Linked DNA regions of Homo sapiens: all the other regions are linked to region 1. The links are contacts of gene promoters, found by promoter capture Hi-C in blood cells and fetal thymus (Javierre and others, 2016). All regions are on one chromosome and are shown on one strand. The core of a region is centred on a gene start or on the middle of the fragment in contact, and the rest is flanking DNA. Distances in the headings are between cores, read along the strand shown.

The links. Contacts are between HindIII fragments. The CHiCAGO score rates a contact against its expected background, and 5 or more counts as called.
Region 2: the fragment with the promoter of SMIM13 here is called in contact with the fragment with the promoter of TPMT in region 1 in 5 of 17 cell types (naive CD8 T cells, fetal thymus, total CD4 T cells and 2 more); the score reaches 11.0 in naive CD8 T cells.
Region 3: the fragment with the promoter of C6orf52 here is called in contact with the fragment with the promoter of TPMT in region 1 in 2 of 17 cell types (activated CD4 T cells and naive CD8 T cells); the score reaches 5.5 in activated CD4 T cells.
Region 4: a fragment that was not itself captured here is called in contact with the fragment with the promoter of TPMT in region 1 in 2 of 17 cell types (non-activated CD4 T cells and naive CD4 T cells); the score reaches 8.7 in non-activated CD4 T cells.
Region 5: a fragment that was not itself captured here is called in contact with the fragment with the promoter of TPMT in region 1 in 1 of 17 cell types (non-activated CD4 T cells); the score reaches 9.2 in non-activated CD4 T cells.
Region 6: a contact is called between a fragment that was not itself captured here and the fragment with the promoter of TPMT in region 1, in 1 of 17 cell types (total CD4 T cells). The highest score is 6.3, in total CD4 T cells.

What each region holds. Positions count from the first base shown.
Region 1 is chr6:18,153,630-18,156,329 of GRCh38, forward strand. TPMT (thiopurine S-methyltransferase) reads right to left here and starts at 1,448. Exons shown (of 9, transcript NM_000367.5): 1 at 1,404-1,448. KDM1B (lysine demethylase 1B) reads left to right here and starts at 1,793. Exons shown (of 22, transcript NM_001364614.2): 1 at 1,793-1,942; 2 at 2,254-2,297. RefSeq lists a silencer at 1,494-2,053 and an enhancer at 2,494-2,700. The HindIII fragment of the contact is 1,618 bases long and covers 716-2,333 here.
Region 2 is chr6:11,092,511-11,095,210 of GRCh38, forward strand. It overlaps SMIM13 (small integral membrane protein 13), which reads left to right and starts at 1,324. Exons shown (of 2, transcript NM_001135575.2): 1 at 1,324-1,879. The coding sequence starts at 1,804. RefSeq lists enhancers at 931-1,471, 1,014-1,223, 1,472-2,013, 1,894-2,013 and a silencer at 1,484-1,793. The HindIII fragment of the contact is 2,504 bases long and covers 687-2,700 here.
Region 3 is chr6:10,693,242-10,695,941 of GRCh38, forward strand. C6orf52 (chromosome 6 open reading frame 52) reads right to left here and starts at 1,375. Exons shown (of 5, transcript NM_001145020.3): 1 at 1,253-1,375. It overlaps PAK1IP1 (PAK1 interacting protein 1), which reads left to right and starts at 1,731. Exons shown (of 10, transcript NM_017906.3): 1 at 1,731-1,828. The coding sequence starts at 1,745. RefSeq lists enhancers at 1,289-1,338, 1,347-1,949, 1,379-1,758. The HindIII fragment of the contact is 16,030 bases long and covers 1-2,700 here.
Region 4 is chr6:11,534,079-11,536,778 of GRCh38, forward strand. No RefSeq gene overlaps it. Among named protein-coding and RNA genes, the nearest start is that of TMEM170B, 2.3 kb to the right of the region's middle. The HindIII fragment of the contact is 342 bases long and covers 1,146-1,487 here.
Region 5 is chr6:11,230,345-11,233,044 of GRCh38, forward strand. NEDD9 (neural precursor cell expressed, developmentally down-regulated 9) reads right to left here and starts at 2,324. Exons shown (of 7, transcript NM_006403.4): 1 at 2,160-2,324. The coding sequence starts at 2,171. LOC124901256 (a long non-coding RNA gene) reads right to left here and starts at 366. Exons shown (of 2, transcript XR_007059449.1): 1 at 95-366. RefSeq lists silencers at 1,832-1,881, 2,362-2,411. The HindIII fragment of the contact is 462 bases long and covers 1,029-1,490 here.
Region 6 is chr6:10,740,976-10,743,675 of GRCh38, forward strand. It overlaps TMEM14B-DT (TMEM14B divergent transcript), which reads right to left. Exons shown (of 2, transcript NR_187231.1): 2 at 2,349-2,700. Among named protein-coding and RNA genes, the nearest start is that of TMEM14B-DT, 5.3 kb to the right of the region's middle. The HindIII fragment of the contact is 1,800 bases long and covers 517-2,316 here.

The DNA of each region.
Region 1 (2,700 bases), core at 198-2,697:
AAATGGCTTCTGCAAGACCCTGATGGTATCAGGAGGTGACTCTGAGTTTTCTGAGAGGTCAGTAGAAAGTATCTGATTTATATTGGGTACAGAAAAGCAAAAGAATGTTGCAGTTTTCTCATTTTCATTCAGAAACTCTGGAACCTAAATTCAAGGCTTCATAAAGCAGTTCTCTACTTAAAAGAGAAGCATAATCTTTATCAGAGTTCCACAGCAGCCTGGAGTAGCACAACTCTATTCCTTTCACACAAACTTGAACTGTCTAACAAAATCATGCACATAACTTAATCATGTCTTAGTTGTTTGTTTTTGAGACAGGGTCTCTCTCTATCCCCCAGGCTGGAGTGCAGTGGTGTAATGACACTTCCGTCTCCAACACTGGGGCTCAAGCGATCCTCTCACTTCAACCTCCTGAGTACCTGGGACTATAAGGGTGCACCACCATGCCTGGCTAATTTTTAAATATTTTGTAGAGACAGGGTCTTGCTATGTTACCCAGGCTGGTCTCAAACTCCTGGGCTCAACGTCTTAGCTGTTCTAACAGTTTCTCAGCATGGACTCCACTTGTATACATCATTTCTAGAGAAATAAAGTTTATTTCTATAATACAAAAAAAGTGCACATTACAAGAATTAAGGAAGGGAAATTTCACAAAAATTTCTGCCCACAAACAAAGTCCTCAAGTTGTTCTAGTCTCCATTCTCACCTTTTCAAAAGCTTCTGCTATAGTTTTGTTTTTAAATTTCATAAAATTGAGAAGAAACTTTCCTAAGGTGCACACATCTTAAAAGAGTATGACTCGGTGAATTTTTTACATATACATACACCTGTGTAACCACCGCAGAGCAAGACAGAATATTTACAGCACCCCAGTTTCCCACATCACCAGGGATCACTCACTATTTGGCAGTACTTATTTTTTCCCAAAAATCACTAATACACCAGGCTGGGGAAAAAACCGAGAGTCCGTTTCTATAAAAAAAAATTTGAAAAATTAGCCAAGCGTGGTGCAGCGAGCCTGTAGTCCCAGTTACCGAGGAGGCTGGGGCGGGAAGATCACTTGAGCCCAGGAGTTCCAGGTTACAGTGAGCTATGATTGTGCCACTGCACGCTAGCATGGGCGACAGAGGGAGACCCTGTCTCTAAAAGAAAAAAGAAAAAAAAATAATTAAAACACACCAGTGCTTTGGAAGCACTTTAAATCCTGGACATTGGATTCAGGTCATTTACTGTCCGACCTCGTTATTCCCAGTTTCCGCTTCTGCCCTGAACCCCACTTCACAGGGCTGATTGCTAGGCTGTCTACGCTTGTAAGAATTCCTGGGAGCCCTAGCACGGGCGCATACACTCCTAGCAAATCGTTCCCTTTCTCACCCGCACCCTCCGCGCCCGAGTGAGCCTACCTCGCTTACAGCTGGTTGCCGGCCATTGCCTCCGCCACCAATGACGTCCCCAGGGGCGGGTACGCCTCCGCTTCCACCTCCGCCACTTCTCCGCGCCCCGCCTCCGCCCGCGCCCCGCCTCCGCCCGCGCCCCGCCTCCGCCCGCGCCCCGCCTCTTTCCCGCGCCCCGCCTCTTTCCCGCGCCCCGCCTCAGTTCCCGCCCCCTCTCCCGGCGCCCCGTCTCCACTCCCGCCCCGTACCTCGTTGCACAGACTCCACCCACTTCCCCAAGCGCCGGGGTTTGCGCAGCGGCGGAAATGGGCAGGGCGGAGCGAGCGCTGCGGCTAAAGCGAAGGCGGGGACCCTACCCATCCCTAGTCCTGTCGGCTCCTCCCACCCCGGGTCACGCCGTGACAGGGGCGGAAGCGGCGGCGGCGGCGGCGGCCGAGAAGAGGCTGGGGCTCGCGGCGCGGCTGCAGCCGTCCTGTGCGCGCGGCGCGCGGCTCCGGAGAGGCGCCCGCAGTCCAGGGCGGCGCGCACCGCCTCGCTGGCGCTCAGAGGTGGGAGGCTCCCCACTCCGGGGGCGTGCGTGGGGGCCGTGGCGGATTTCGGGTGACAGCGTTGCACAAAGCAGCTTGGTTGGGGTGCAAGCCCTCCCTTTCCCCCTGTGCAGCGCCCCTCGCCGTGGTGGGAGGTGGGCGGGTGCCCCAGGGACGGATACCTCCTGCCCCGGATTAAAAGAGGGTGCGGGGTGGGTATCTGTCTGAAGAAGGGGGAATTCCCGGGCTAGGGTGTTGGGGCGTGGGGTCGCCGGGTTCGTCGCGATGTTGCCGGTCGGCTAACCCCCCTACAATGTTTCCTTTCTGTACAGCGGTGCCTTTTCCCCGAGACTCCCGGCACCTCTTCAGCGCAAAGGTGAGCCCCGGGGCAGTTGCTTCTCCGACTTCGAAAAGCTTCCGAAAGCTTCTCGGAAAGCGAGGCGGCTGCAGCTGGCACCGGGAGTTTGGGGCTCCCTCCTGGGGACTGTCAGAGCCGCGGGAGAACCCCACGGTCCTGGAGTAGGAACTCCCTCGCTTGTTCTTCCCGGCCGATAGGGTGCGGCCAGGAGCCCGCACAGCCTTGCAGGTGTTGTAGTAATTCTCTGGCACAGCCACCACGCGTTGAGACTTGATGAGCATTGCCAGGTTGCTGGGGTAACTCCTCTGGGATTGGAGACCTGGAGGAGGGGTGGCCCGATTAGGGTAGCTGTTAGTCAACGGCCGGGCAGCTGACAGGTGAAAGAGGAAGGAAGAGGCCGACCCAGCTGTAGAAAGTTGGG
Region 2 (2,700 bases), core at 74-2,573, 7.1 Mb before region 1:
GGGTTTCACCATGTTGGCCAGGCTGGTCTCGAACTCCTGACTTCAGGTGATCTGCTCGCCTTAGCCTCCCAAAGTGCTGGGATTACAGGCGTGAGCCACCTCGCCTAGCCCTGACGCGTATTTTCAACTGGCTTTTAATAAAATGTGTTTTAATTATGCAACATAATTGAACCACCCATGAAAAAAGCACACACTGATTTTTTGTAAATATATCTTAATTGCACTGGGTTCATTCTCTTCACAGGAATCTATATTAAATCTGTTGCAAAGCAAGTAATTATCCTTTAATGTATTTTTATACATGGTATTTGTTCCTAATGTTGCTTCTTAGGGAATACAGTTCACATAGTAGGGCAGCTGGGTATGGCAGGATACATTTATTAAATCAAGGGATTGCTGCTTAGAACTTTTGTGTTTGTTTTTGGAGACAGAAGACAGGAAACTGTAATTTTTAGAAGAGTAAAAAGGTATCTCAGGGAGCAAAAGAATCACAGGAAAACTCGAAGGCTCTGATTCCTTCTAAAAGAGGGACACATTTACCCTCTATTCTTCTGGGGGCACCTCTTTAACAAATGAATGTAATCTGGCGGAAGTGGGGAGTTTCAATTTTGGGTGGAGATACAGTAGTTGAGATTACTACAGTGTCTTGTTTCGTAGAGGTGTAAGCCAGTGCGGCAAAATCTCCAAGCTTGGTCTCAAGGAGGCAGCTGGGTCTAACTTACAACTCAGGCAGGTGATTTGAGGGCAGTGCAGCTGTCCTTAAGTCACCCGCGGGCCATTTCTGAAATGCTTTACTTACGAAAAGATAGAACATAACATCTGTTGCAGGGGGAAAATGAGATTTCGTGTCCTGACCCGCGTCTGCGGCAGGGACCTGAGTTCTTCCTCCAAGTCCCAAATAGCCAACCTTCGCCCCCGGCAACAGGGCTAGGTGCACGAGCAACCAGTTTTTCAGGCAGCCGCCTCCTCTTTCCTCTCTCGCCGTACTTCATCGATTACGGCTAGAAACAAAACGACTTTGTATACGGAGTAATGGTTGAAATCTCACTGGCGCCTCAGCAGGACGGGCAGCCAGATCCGCGGCTTTGGAGAAGGCCAGCCCACGGTCGTCCGACTGAGGCGACTTGAGCAAGACCAAAGGCAGAGCCGCCCGAGAATGAAAGCAGCGAAGCCCGAGTGGCGGTGCATTCTGGGAGTTGTAGTCCCTGCGAGACAACGCCGTCCCGACTCCACCAGGCTCTGCACTCCATCTCCCAGCCGACCCCGCGCCGCGGAGGAGGCGAGCTTGGTGATGAGCTGCCCCAGCGGTAGGGGGCCTGGGGCGGAGAAGCCGCTACAGCCGCGGCCGGGCGACGCTGACATCTGGCATCCCTGGGGTCTCAGAGACACGGGTGGACAGCGACGAGGGCCTTGTGGCCGCCGTGTGTACCCGTGCTTACCCTCTGTCCTCCCTACAGGCGCGCGGCGTCCGCCATGGAAGCGCATCCGACCGCTGGGGTCTCTGGGTGCCGCGGCCTCGGCTCTCCGGGGCGATGAGGGACTAGAGGCGCCCTGAGGCCCGCCTGCCTCCCGCGCTCTGGCCACCCCGGCGGGAAAAGGATCGGGCGGGCGGGCGGTCCCACAGTGCCCGCCTTTGCGCCGCCCCACCCCCTGGGGGCGCTGCCGAGGGGGCGCCAGCCGCCCATGCCGCCCCGGCGCCCAGCCGCGCCTGGCGCCCGCCGCTGAAGCGCAGGACGCGCCGCCGCCCGCGCTCACCGCCGTCCGCGCCAGCCGCCCCGAGCCGACTGCCCTTCTGCCCCCAAGATGTGGCACAGCGTCGGGCTGACTCTGCTTGTGTTCGTGGCCACGCTGCTGATCGTCCTGCTGCTGATGGTGTGCGGTGAGTGGGGGCGGTAGCCGCGAGGCAGTTCCACACGCCGGGTCGCTGATCTGCTGGGGTTTTTTTTGTTGTTTGTTTTTTTGAAAAAAACAAAAGGGCGTGGACGGACAATTGTCTTAAAATCAACTGTTGTCCCTTAGCCTCTAGGGCTGAGCGCAGAGGTGGGCCCTTTACTCATGGCCGGCCCTCGGGCATCCTGGGGAGGGAAAGGACAGGCTCCAGGGCTTCCTGCCTCTGAGTGAAACTCAGCCTTGCTTCACCGGCAGCGTCTGCTCTTTCATTCTCACCACAGGCTGCCCAGATTGTAACCTTGGCCTGCATTCGAAGGTGAAGTGATTGATTGGTCCTTTTTCATTTGCACAGATTCTGACCTTAATAATGAGAGGTGTCACCTTCGTTTCATCAGCGAGTGGGGTAGAGTTGGGTTTTCAGCACGCGTGAAATTGTTTACTTAGAGTTCAGCCTTAAACTCAATTCCAAGCAGAGATGTGGAGACCAGGCAGAGCTTAGAAACACCGGCTATATTAAACTTGCAGGGTCGGGTAACCTAACTCTCAGTTCTATAATAATGGTGCTATTTCGAATGCTGTGCGTATTTTCCTTCTTGGAATGAGAGGACGTTCAACTTTTTTCTTCAAATAATGGTAGCCCAATTTTAGATCTTTTTGATTTCTTTGTACATGTATAGTAGCTGATAACCACAGGTCTCTTAGCAAAGTGGCTAAGCAATTGTGAAAATCTAAAAAGTACGTAGAACACGTGTCAGTGAGTTTACACATATTTATAAGACTGAAGTATGGGTTCAGGTTGATGTAATAATG
Region 3 (2,700 bases), core at 125-2,624, 7.5 Mb before region 1:
AATATGTCTGCTTTTCCTTTGTTCAGGAGTGCTCTCACCATCGTTCCATCTGCAATTGAGCACCCTTTCTGCATAAAGTAAAAATTGCCTTGCTGAGAGATCTTTTGTCTCCATGCTGACTTTTCTTCGTGTCACCAATTATCTATTTCTAACAATAACAAGGTCTTTTCTGCACTGCAGTGACAACCAAAGCATCCCAAATGAAATCATTTCTGCAAGACCCAAACTAGCCTCTATTAACACGTACTAACAATTCAGAACACCAGAGAAGAAAAGTTATTGGAAACAAAAGGGTCTAAGCGCTGAAGCACTGTATCGCACTTGAAATGGAGGCTGAAGATTTGAGAAGGATGGACTATGCATCTTGTTTACCAAATGACCTACTACGGTGTTTATGAGAACTATACGAACCAAGATTTACTCTGTTGGGAGCTTGTAGGAAAGCTGTAATGTCTAAGACATACCTGAATCTCTAAACCTTATTAAATAAAACTTTTTTTTTCTTTGAAAGGGGGCCTGGCTCGTCCCCCAGACTGGAATGCAGTGGAGCGATCTCGGCTCACTGCAGCCTCGACCTCCTGGGCTCAAGCAATCCTCCCACCTCAGCCTTCCGAGTTGCTGAGGCCACAGGCGGGCGTCGCCATGCTGGGCTAATTTATAACATTTTTGTAGAGACGGCATCAAAATATGTTGCTCAGGCTCACTTTGTTTTCCCAACTCTCAAATGAAGGCTCTGGCCGGGCGCTGTGGCTCACGCCTGCAATCCCAGCAACTTTGGGAGGTCGAGGCAAGCGGATCACCTGCGGTCGGGAGTTCAAAACCAGCCTAGCCAACATGGAGAAACCCTGTCTCTACTAAAAAATACAAAATTAGCCAGGCGTGGTGGCGTATGCCTGTAATCCCAGCTACTCGGGAGGCTGAGGCAGGAGAATTGCTTGAACCCGGGAGGCAGAGGTTGCGGTGAGCCGAAATCGCGCCACCGGACTCCAGCCTGGGCAAAAAGAGCGAAACTCCGTCTCAAAAAAAAAAAAAAAAAAATGAAGGCTCACTGCTCCCTCCCCAGGAGGTGCCGCAACCTTGGCCAATACAGCCCCAGAGTTAGACAAGCAGACAGAGAAAGTGTGCAGGGCTGGGGTTCTGGCCCGGGCAGACGGGAACGCGGACACATCTAGCACTCCGAGTCCGTCAAGGCAGCGCGAGCGCTGCGCCGCTGGAACAAGTCACCGCGAACCCTAATCCCACCCCTCCTTACCCTATTAACGACAGAAAGCCTCGTTCCGCTGGTCCCTGAACAAAAACTCCTACCCTACTAGTACACAGCCCACAACAATGCACGCTGCCGGCGCTACAGCCCCTAAGCAACCGGCCGGAAGTCGGCCCCACCTCCTCCTGATGTCACGGAAATGAAGGGCTTCGCAGAGGATGTCCCGCCCGCTCCCTTCAGACGGGCGTAGCTGGCACCTTCCTGAGATATGCCTGCTTGCCCCCGATTTTTTTCTCCTTGCAGTGAGAACCTCCTCATGTGGCATCTTTACTTATTCTCTTCTTGGAAAATCCATGTGACCTCCCCGCGCTTAAAGTGTTTCCACGTTACAGGCGACTTAAAGGCAGCCCTGGAGCCTGACGTATAATTCGAGCGCCGATGCAGAAAGGAGTCAGGTGTTTTTTTTTTTTTTTTTTTGGTTTCCGGTTCTGTCACCTCCAGGCTGAGCCGGGCTGGCGGAAGAGGCACGTGCGCTGCTGAATGGAGCTGGTCGCTGGTTGCTACGAGCAGGTCCTCTTTGGGTTCGCTGTACACCCGGAGCCCGAGGCTTGCGGCGACCACGAGGTGAGATACCGCGTAGTTAGAGACAGTCGGAGGCGGGGCCGGGAAGGTCGGGTTTGGTTCCTACACAGCAGAGGTGAACATTGGAGCGCCTGCTGTTCACTGGATGATTTGATGAATCAAACCTAAGAGACTTAAGAGAAAAGCTAACCTTTTAAACCGTAGAATGGACATTTTATCAAAATGAGGCAATATCTGCCTTTTCTAGTAGACAAAAGGTCCACGGGACACAAAGGAAACCGGCATTTCTGCATACGGACAAATGAGTCGTAGATTGTGGATTTAAGGATCGATCCCATAAGTTGACAGTATTCAGAATTTAATGAAAGAAGATCTCGCTCTTTTGCTGAATTTCTGCCCTGGAATTTTACAAATTACTAGAACTAGATTAGGATAAATCCCTTATAGGTAAAGCGATACCAATTCATTATTTGTTGGGAACTTATGGCGAGCTGGGCGGTGGAGATGCAAAGATGCTGGAGGTATGGATCTTGCCTTAGAGACGTTGCCTACATAAGGGGTGGAGGACTGAGGAGACGCATAGATGGAGAGAAATTACAGCAGAATATGATATTACTAGATGTGTGAATAGATAAAAAGGTCAAATAAATTATCAGTAGTCAAATAGGTAGATAGGACTATACTCACGACTAGGAATCCGACCTCCTAACATCTAGCTCACTTTTATTCTTGAAGCAATTCTAAGCATTTTCTAGAAAATTGAGTACAGTACTTCTTTATGAAGTCAAGGCGTCGGTCTTTAATTATCCAGAAAATTTGGAAGTATATCACTTGGCCTATTGCTTTCGTTTATTTTGTTTCCTACTCCAGTTATTTGCTCTTTGTCTTTGGCTGAAAAGTGATGTGTTTTGAAT
Region 4 (2,700 bases), core at 67-2,566, 6.6 Mb before region 1:
TAGGCAGAATATACTTTTTTATCCCATTCACTTAGGGGCTTAACTATGCAATCTGCTTCAAACAAGGGAATGTGGATATGTGACATGCATGTGACATGGACCCCATATCTGAGCATGAACTTTAAATGCACCTGTGTAGTTTAGCCCTGCCTCTCTTGTCCATGCCAGAGCTGGGATAAGGATGAGGTGGGTGAGACAAGGTCTTGCAAGTGCAGGGTGAGATTCTGTGTTTATTTAAAATTTTGGTATTTCATTAATCATGGATTTTTGCATGAATTTTTATTTTTAAAAATATTATATTAGTATATTATTTATCTTGATAACAGAGTGTTTCAGAGTCTGTTGTCAAGACTTGCAGGCAAGGCTTTGCAGGCAAGGCCAGTGTCCCATTGTAGCCCTGGTTCCAGCCCTATACCATGAGAATGGCATGTACTCAGAGCGTGACATCTTCCTCAGCCTCAGGTATGAAATGAGAAGACCTGTGGAGCTGGACTGAGCTGAATCAAGCTGAATCAGTCTAGATTTTGGACTTGCATGGGGCCTGTAGCTCCTTTGTTGTGGCCAATGTCTCCCATTCGGAATGGCTGTATTTATCCAATGCGTGTACCCCCATTGTATCTAGGAAGTAACTAACTTGCTTTTGATTTTACAGGCTTATAGGCGGAAGGGACTAGCCTTGTTTCAGATGAGACTTTGGACTGTGGACTATTGAGTTGATGCTGAAATGAGTTAAGACCTTGGGGAACTGTTGGGAAGGCATGATTGATTTTGAAATGTGAGGACATGAGAGTTGGCAGGGACCAGGGGAGGAATGATATAATTTGGCTCTGTATGGTTTTATCAAGGGTCTCCACTTTTGCGTCTTCCTCATTCTCTCGTTGCCTGCTGCCACCCATGTAAGACGGGACTTGCTCCTCCTTGCCTTCCACCATGATTGTGAGGCTTCCCCAGTCACATGGAACTGTAAGTCCAATTAAACCTCTTCCTTTATAAATTGCCCAGTTTTGGGTATGTCTTTATCTGCAGCGTGAAAATGGACTAATACGTTAAGTTGATACCAGTAGAGTGGGGTGCTTCTGAAAAGATACCTGAAAATGTTTTTCTCAAAAGATCAATATCATTTTATATTTTAATTGATTTTAAAAAGCTTTCCTCTAGGTTGTCTCTGGACAGTTTTAAAAATGACTAAGGCTAATGGGTGTTCCCTCACTTACATGAGAGAAATAAACCAGGAATTTTGGTTTATGAATTACGTTTGTGAATTGTTTCATGCTGAAGGGCACAGAGTTGAAAGGAAATTTTTGGATTCACTTGGGGTGGTCCCTGATTTCTGACAGGAACGTGACTAAACTCTTCCTGAATTGGTGTATTAATTCAAAATAAAAAATCTGTAGGAAAGAAATTCCAAAACTTTCATTTGTATTAACTCAGTTTTGGGTTTCATAACTCTGGCTGTTGGGAAAATGTCTAATTCTCTTAAGGATATAAGCTTCCAACACAGTCAAGATCATTACTTTTATCAAGGAAAACCTAAGTAGCCTAGAGAGTAGAGATCTTATCTTCAAATGTTACAGATAACACCTTGCACAGAACATTACAGATAGTAGATGCCAAATAAATATAGACGCCAATTAAATTGAACTGAACAGCAGGGGTGAAGTTGTTGGGCAGCAAATAACATTACTGACTTGAGACTTCATTGCTGTGTCTTTCTCATTTCCTGACATGAACACTTGGATTCTGTAAAAAATATTTATTCAGAACAAGAACAATGCTGACTTTTCTATGAAGATCATTCAGTGATTCATTCAACAAATATTTGTGGTGCAGGTGCCAGGCACTGTCCCAGGTTCTGAATATTTTCACTGCGTGCTACTGTGTTTTAAATAATAGTGTGCAATCCTAAGAACGTAAACTAACTAAAGGTTTCTGATATGAGAGTTTAATGAGCCCCTGCTCAGGGAGTTTGCTGTGAACCCTTCACTGAATGTGGTCACATTCCCTAACATCACTAATTATGTAATGCCAAGTCCCTTAAGAATATCATTAGGTAACCTGCACTTCCCCATCAAGAATCTTAAAGTGAGGGAGTTAACAGTGGGTTAAGAAAGATAATGTGGTTGCTAGAAAGAATAATAGACCAGGAATTCAGAAACTGAGCTGTGAAGTGCTGTCATCTCTGTCAAGTCACTTAATTCACAGAATCTGTTTCCCTATCTGTAAAATAAAATTAGAAAAATGTTAAAGCGCTCTTTTAGGTTTGATATTCTGTAATCTTGTTAATAGATCTAATTAAGTCTAAATTCTAGGAGGAAGATAAACTCTACATTAAGAGTTTTGGCTCAATTCCTATTAATGGTGCAAAAATTTCTCTTATGTTGTGACATCAAAAAGAAAATACAAATAAACAAAGAAATAAATGTGTATGTAAATATTATTTTAAAGTGGTCACCAAGAGCACCATTTGACAGGTAATTTGACCCTTCAGTGCTTTGTCAAATATACTTCATGATTTAGCTACAGCAGGTATTTCTTCACTTCTCTTTGTAAATTTTTCTTTATCCAGATGGCAGAGGGGTTGAAAAAAGGTGGGGGGAGGGGCTGGCTACTGCATATTTATGTTACTGCTAAAACTTAAATTTTTATTTTTTAAAGTTAGAAGGTTTCCAATTTCGAGGAGTTTAACTTGTAGTTGGATTT
Region 5 (2,700 bases), core at 10-2,509, 6.9 Mb before region 1:
TAATCCCAGCTCACCACTTTCTAGCTGTGTGGCATTAGATAAATTACTTAGCCTCTCTGTGTCATTTGAAATTGAGTATAAAAATAATACCCACCTTGTAGAGCTATTGGGAGAGTTGAATATGACAATCTTGTGTTGTCACAGTAAGTCTCAATTAATGTTACTTCATTACTTTTGTGTCTCTCCTCTACTTACAATAACAAAATCCTTTCCTGAAGTAAAGTTGTTCATTATTAACTAGAGAGAAAGAAAACTTTATAAAAAAGGAAAGTGGATTTCTTCAGCTATTGGTTGATTTAATAGTCATCATAGGGCATAAGTCATGTGTTCGGTCGGAGAAGTTAGCTTTTTTGCTGGTGAAGGTGCCTACAAGGTAATAAAAATCATGTATTTACATCATTTGGCAAGGTGTTCAACACCAGTAAGGCCCAGTGGAGAAGCAGGTTTCTCCATGAATGCCAATCGCAGTTTACGCTGTCAGTCACTTTATCAGTTGCCTTTAGATTTTCTTTCCATAAAGAGTAAAGCTAACCACGATGAGATCATTGAATAAAAGTGACTTGAGACTTTGTCGCTTTCGTCACTTTCTAGATTATAGCACTCAATGTTAATTTCAGCCATTTATACTTTCCAATAATAGACATATGAACATACTTTCTCTTTTTTCTGCAAGCCAGTTCTTATTCAACAACAGGGAAAGGAGGAGCAAAAAAGTCACTCCAGGCTGAGTAATATCTGGTCCTATCATTGTTCTAAATAAGGAAATATGGGGTGAGCCACTTTAAGGAAGATAACTTTCCTGCCAAGTAGAGGGATTTGTTTCTGGTTGCATCCTAAAGTCAAATATTAATAGTCTTCAGGATGACCCTTTCCTCTGATCTTCCCTACTGATGAAGATAATAGAAAGCTGATGAAACAGAAATAGCTGATACCTGTGTCTTCAGACAGTGGTAACGTAGGCATTACTATAAAGACTTTTGACATTTAGACTTAAAGCTTTTGAATAAGATTCATAGTTTTTGAACAAAAGCTTTATTACTGAGGCTAGTCAGTGGCTATCAGTTAGACCAAGTATTTACAACCTTACATCAAAAAAGGATGGACCAGAAAAATTTAGAAAAAAAGCGAAGTAGCTTCCAGCTAGTGTACAGTTAATATAAATTGTCAATCCACAAGCCTAGCACCCTTGCCCAAATCCATCTTAATAATAACACTTTTGTTTAAAATAGCATAAAATAAAATAGTAGCACTAGCACTCATGTCTATTCATCATTCAAGAAAAATTCATGTCCAATTCATTGCAGTCTGCTTTCTTTGTGTCCCCTGGAAGCTGCTTGCCTCCTTAGATGGGAGTGACTTAAAAGAAAAAGGGGAGGGGGGAATATACGGAGCAAGTCAAAAATCCTTTTGGCAAGAAAAATCCACAAACAATGGTGTAAAATGCATTGGAAAATAATGCTGCTGAAGTACTATGACTATGACACTCTGTAAGCTTTCAGGCACAATGAGCCAGCCTGAGCCTTCGCACTCTCACCCCATTCAAACTCCAATAAAAATGTTTTCAAGAAATGGCTCATACTTATTTATTCCTACATCCAATATAACATAAGGATGTCAAAATTTTCCATCCTCAGCTGTGTAATCTGGGCTTTTAATTTCTCCCACCAAAAGTGCATATGGCATACTCCTTCCGAGACCAAACGATTAAAGCAAAGTCTGGAAAACTTTGCACTAAGAGCCAGTCTGAGACAGACTATGCAGTCCTCATTCCTCTCATTACAGTTCCCCAGGGCAGTGGAAGCCAGGCCTGGGGAAGCCAAGGAGACTTGAGCCAATGCCTGCCGCGATTCAAGTCAGACACCCTCTGATCTCCAGTGGCTGCTGTGAAGCGGCTCCAAGTCTTAACTTCTCACCGAGGTATTTCCCCGGCAACTTTCAGAGCAGATGGACTCGGGTGTACTGTGAACCCCTGGAGTGGGTCTCAAAGACCGGGTCTCTGCTTGCTTGTCTGCTTGCATGTCAACCTCAGTGACCGAGACTCATCTTAGAACTCTCCGGGACACACAAGGGACTGACAGTAAGGAACACGCATACACAAGCACACACCCGCAGGCACAGCTTTCAGCTTGCAAGGTAACCTGTAAAAGGCACTCTCTTACCTTATACTTCATTTCGGCAGCGGTGGGTTGAGCCGTTTTCCTACACTAGTTAAGACAGCATTAAGCACTGCGGTGCCCGCCCCTCCATTGAGTGCAGCGCTAGATGAAAGCGAGAAGGTCCCGGGCAGAGCCGCTTGTCAGTCGCAGCGCCTCCCTCAAGTCTCTGAGCTCACTGTTGTGACTGAGGCAGGCTGATCGCGGACCTCATTTGCATGCCGCCCCGCCATTGGCTAGTGGGACAAGGTAATGCTCAGGCCCTGCCCACCCCTAATTCTGAAAAACTGACAAAGAACTTGTAATGTGATCGCTTCTTTTTGCTTTATCAGACGGTGGAAAATAAAACAGAAAGTGGGGAACCGTCCTGAACCTTACTCTGTCCTCCCGCCCCCGCCAAAAAAGAAGACAGAAAGAGAAAGAACAGGAAAAGGAGATACATTCTTTTTAAGATTAACCCAAATTTTAAAGAAACTGAATTCACAAAAGCAGTCTGACAGTCGCGCTTCCTGTGACCTAGCAACTCCTTCATAAACCCATTTCGTTT
Region 6 (2,700 bases), core at 167-2,666, 7.4 Mb before region 1:
TTCTTATGTGTCATCTATATATGATGTCCAGGGTTTTTAGTTGCACTTAGTGAGAGAGGAAAGTACGTCTACTCTATCATCCCAGAAAAGCAAGTTTCTGAATATGATTTTTAGATGGAATAAAAATGGATACAAATGTAATTCCTCTTATGCCATTCTCCCTAGAATCAATGTAGGATCACCTTATGATAATGAAGTTACTTGAGGCTGGGTGCGGTGGCTCACACCTATAATCCCAGCACTTTGGGGGGCAGAGGGAGGTGGATCACCTGAGGTCAGGAATTCAAGACCAGCCTGGTCAACACGGTGAAACCCGGTGTCTACTAAAGATAAAAAAATGAGCCGGGTGTGGTTGCTGGCGCCTGTAATCCCAGCTGCTTGGGAGGCTGAGGCAGGAGAATTACTTGAACCCGGGAGGCAGAGGTTGCAGTGGGCCGAGATGATGCCACTGCACTCCAGCCTGGGCAAGAGTGAGACTCTGTCTCAAAAAAAAAAAAAAAAAAAGCGACTTGATGAAGCTTCCATGTTATTTAATTCTACTCAGTTCCTAGGGAATGCATATTACAGCAAAGTTGAGTATAATGCAGATATTCCTGAGAGGTGAAGCCGACTGGGCTTCTGGGTCGGGTGGGGACTTGGAGAACTTTTCTGTCTAGCTAAAGGATTATAAACACACTAATCAGCACTCTGTGTTTAGCTAAAGGTTTGCAAACGCACCAGTCAGCACTCTGTGTCTAGCTAATCAGGTGGGGACTTGGAGAACTTTTGTGTCTACCTAAAGGATTGTAAACGCACCAATCAGCACTCTGTAAAACGGACCAATCAGCACTCTGTAAAATGGACCAATCAGCAGGATGTGGGTGGGGCCAAATAAGGGGCCAAAAGCAGGCCACCCGAGCCAGCAGTGGCAACTCTCCTATCAGTCCTGTTCCATGCTGTTGCAGTTTTCTTCCTTTGCACTTTGCAATAAATCTTACTGCTGTTACTGCTGGTTACTGTTTGGGTCCTCACTGCCTTTATGAGCTGTAACACTCACTGTAAAAGTCTGCAGGTTCACTCCTGACACTAGCGTAAATGACAAGCCCATTGGGAGGAACGAACAACTCTGGAGGTGCCATCTTTAAGAGCTGTAACACTCATTGCAAAGGTCTGCAGCTTCACTCCTGAAGCCAGCAAGACCATGAGCCCACAGGGAGGAATGAACAACTGTGGACGTTCCGCCTTTATGAGCTATATAACACTGACTGCGAAAGTCTGCAGCTTCACTTCTGAAGCCAGCGGGACCATGAACCCACAGGGGAGGAATGAACAGCTCTGGATGCACCACCTTTAAGAGCTGTTAACAGTCAACGGCGAAGGTCTGTGGCTTCACTCCTGAGGCCTGTGCAGGTCACTGAACCCAGCGGAAAGAAGAAATTCCAGACACATCCAAACAGCTGAAGGAACAGACTGTGGACACACTATTTTTAAGAACTGTAAACACCGTGAGGGTCCGTGGCTTCATTCCTGAAGTCAGCGAGACCAAGAACCCACCGGAAGGAACCAATATTTGGACACATTCGTATCAGCTGTTTAAAATTCTTGGTGGGGGCCGGGAGCTGTGGCTTAACGCCTGTAATCCCAGTACTTTGGAAGGCTGAGGTAGGTGGATCACGAAGTCAGGAGTTTGAGAACAGCCTGGGCAATATGCTGAAACACCTGTCTCTAGTAAAAATAAGAAAATTAGTAGGGCATGGTGGCATGTGCCTGTAATCCCAGCTACTTGGGAGGCTGAAGCAGGAGAATCGCTCAACCCGGGAGGCAGAGGTTTCCGTGAGCTAAGATCGCGCCACTGCACTCCAGCGTGGGTGACAGAGCAACACTCAGTCTCAAAACAGAATTCTTCATGGGACATTTAACTGAAAGGCTTAAACTGGCTTAAGTCTATTTTAAGACACGGGGTCTCTGTCACCTTTTGCAGTGGCATGATTATAGCTTCCTGCAGCTTTGAACTCCTGGGCTCAAGCAATCCTCCTGCCTCAGCCTCCTGAGTAGCTGTGACTACAGGCATCCACCATCACACCCAGCTAATCTTATTTTTTTTGTAGAGACTGGGTTTCATCATGTTGGTCAGGCTGGTTTCGAACTCCTGACCTCAAGTGATCTGCTTGCCTTGGCCTCCCAAAATATTGGGATTACAGACATGAGCCACTGCGCCCAGCCAGAGGGTGTTTTTTTAATGTGGCATTTGAAAATAAAAAGTTGGAATATACATTTGTTTTTGGGAGTATTCAATACTTTTAAGGAAGATTAATATGTTTGTGAAATACAGGGGAAAGCTTTTAGTACAAGTTAAGTATAGATAAATCTTAGTTTTTAAAACATAGGCAGATTTTATTAGATGTGTTAAGTAGTAAGTAGAACATGTGTTAGACACAGAAAGGAATAGAAAGTCCAGGATACCTAACATTCCTAGCTACCAAGTATACATGAGACACCTGAGCATGAAATATTTGATACATTAAATGTCCAAGAGGCACTAAATACAGTGCATAAAATATACATAAGCATGAAATAGTCATGCTATTCACTTCTGTCCCCAAGTGTCCTCTGTCCAAGAAACACAGTAAAACCCATGGTTGCTCCACAGGCCAACAGGCAAAGCTCAGCTCTTTGCTAGGCTTGCTTGTACCTGCATCTCGGACAGAGCAAGTTTGTGTC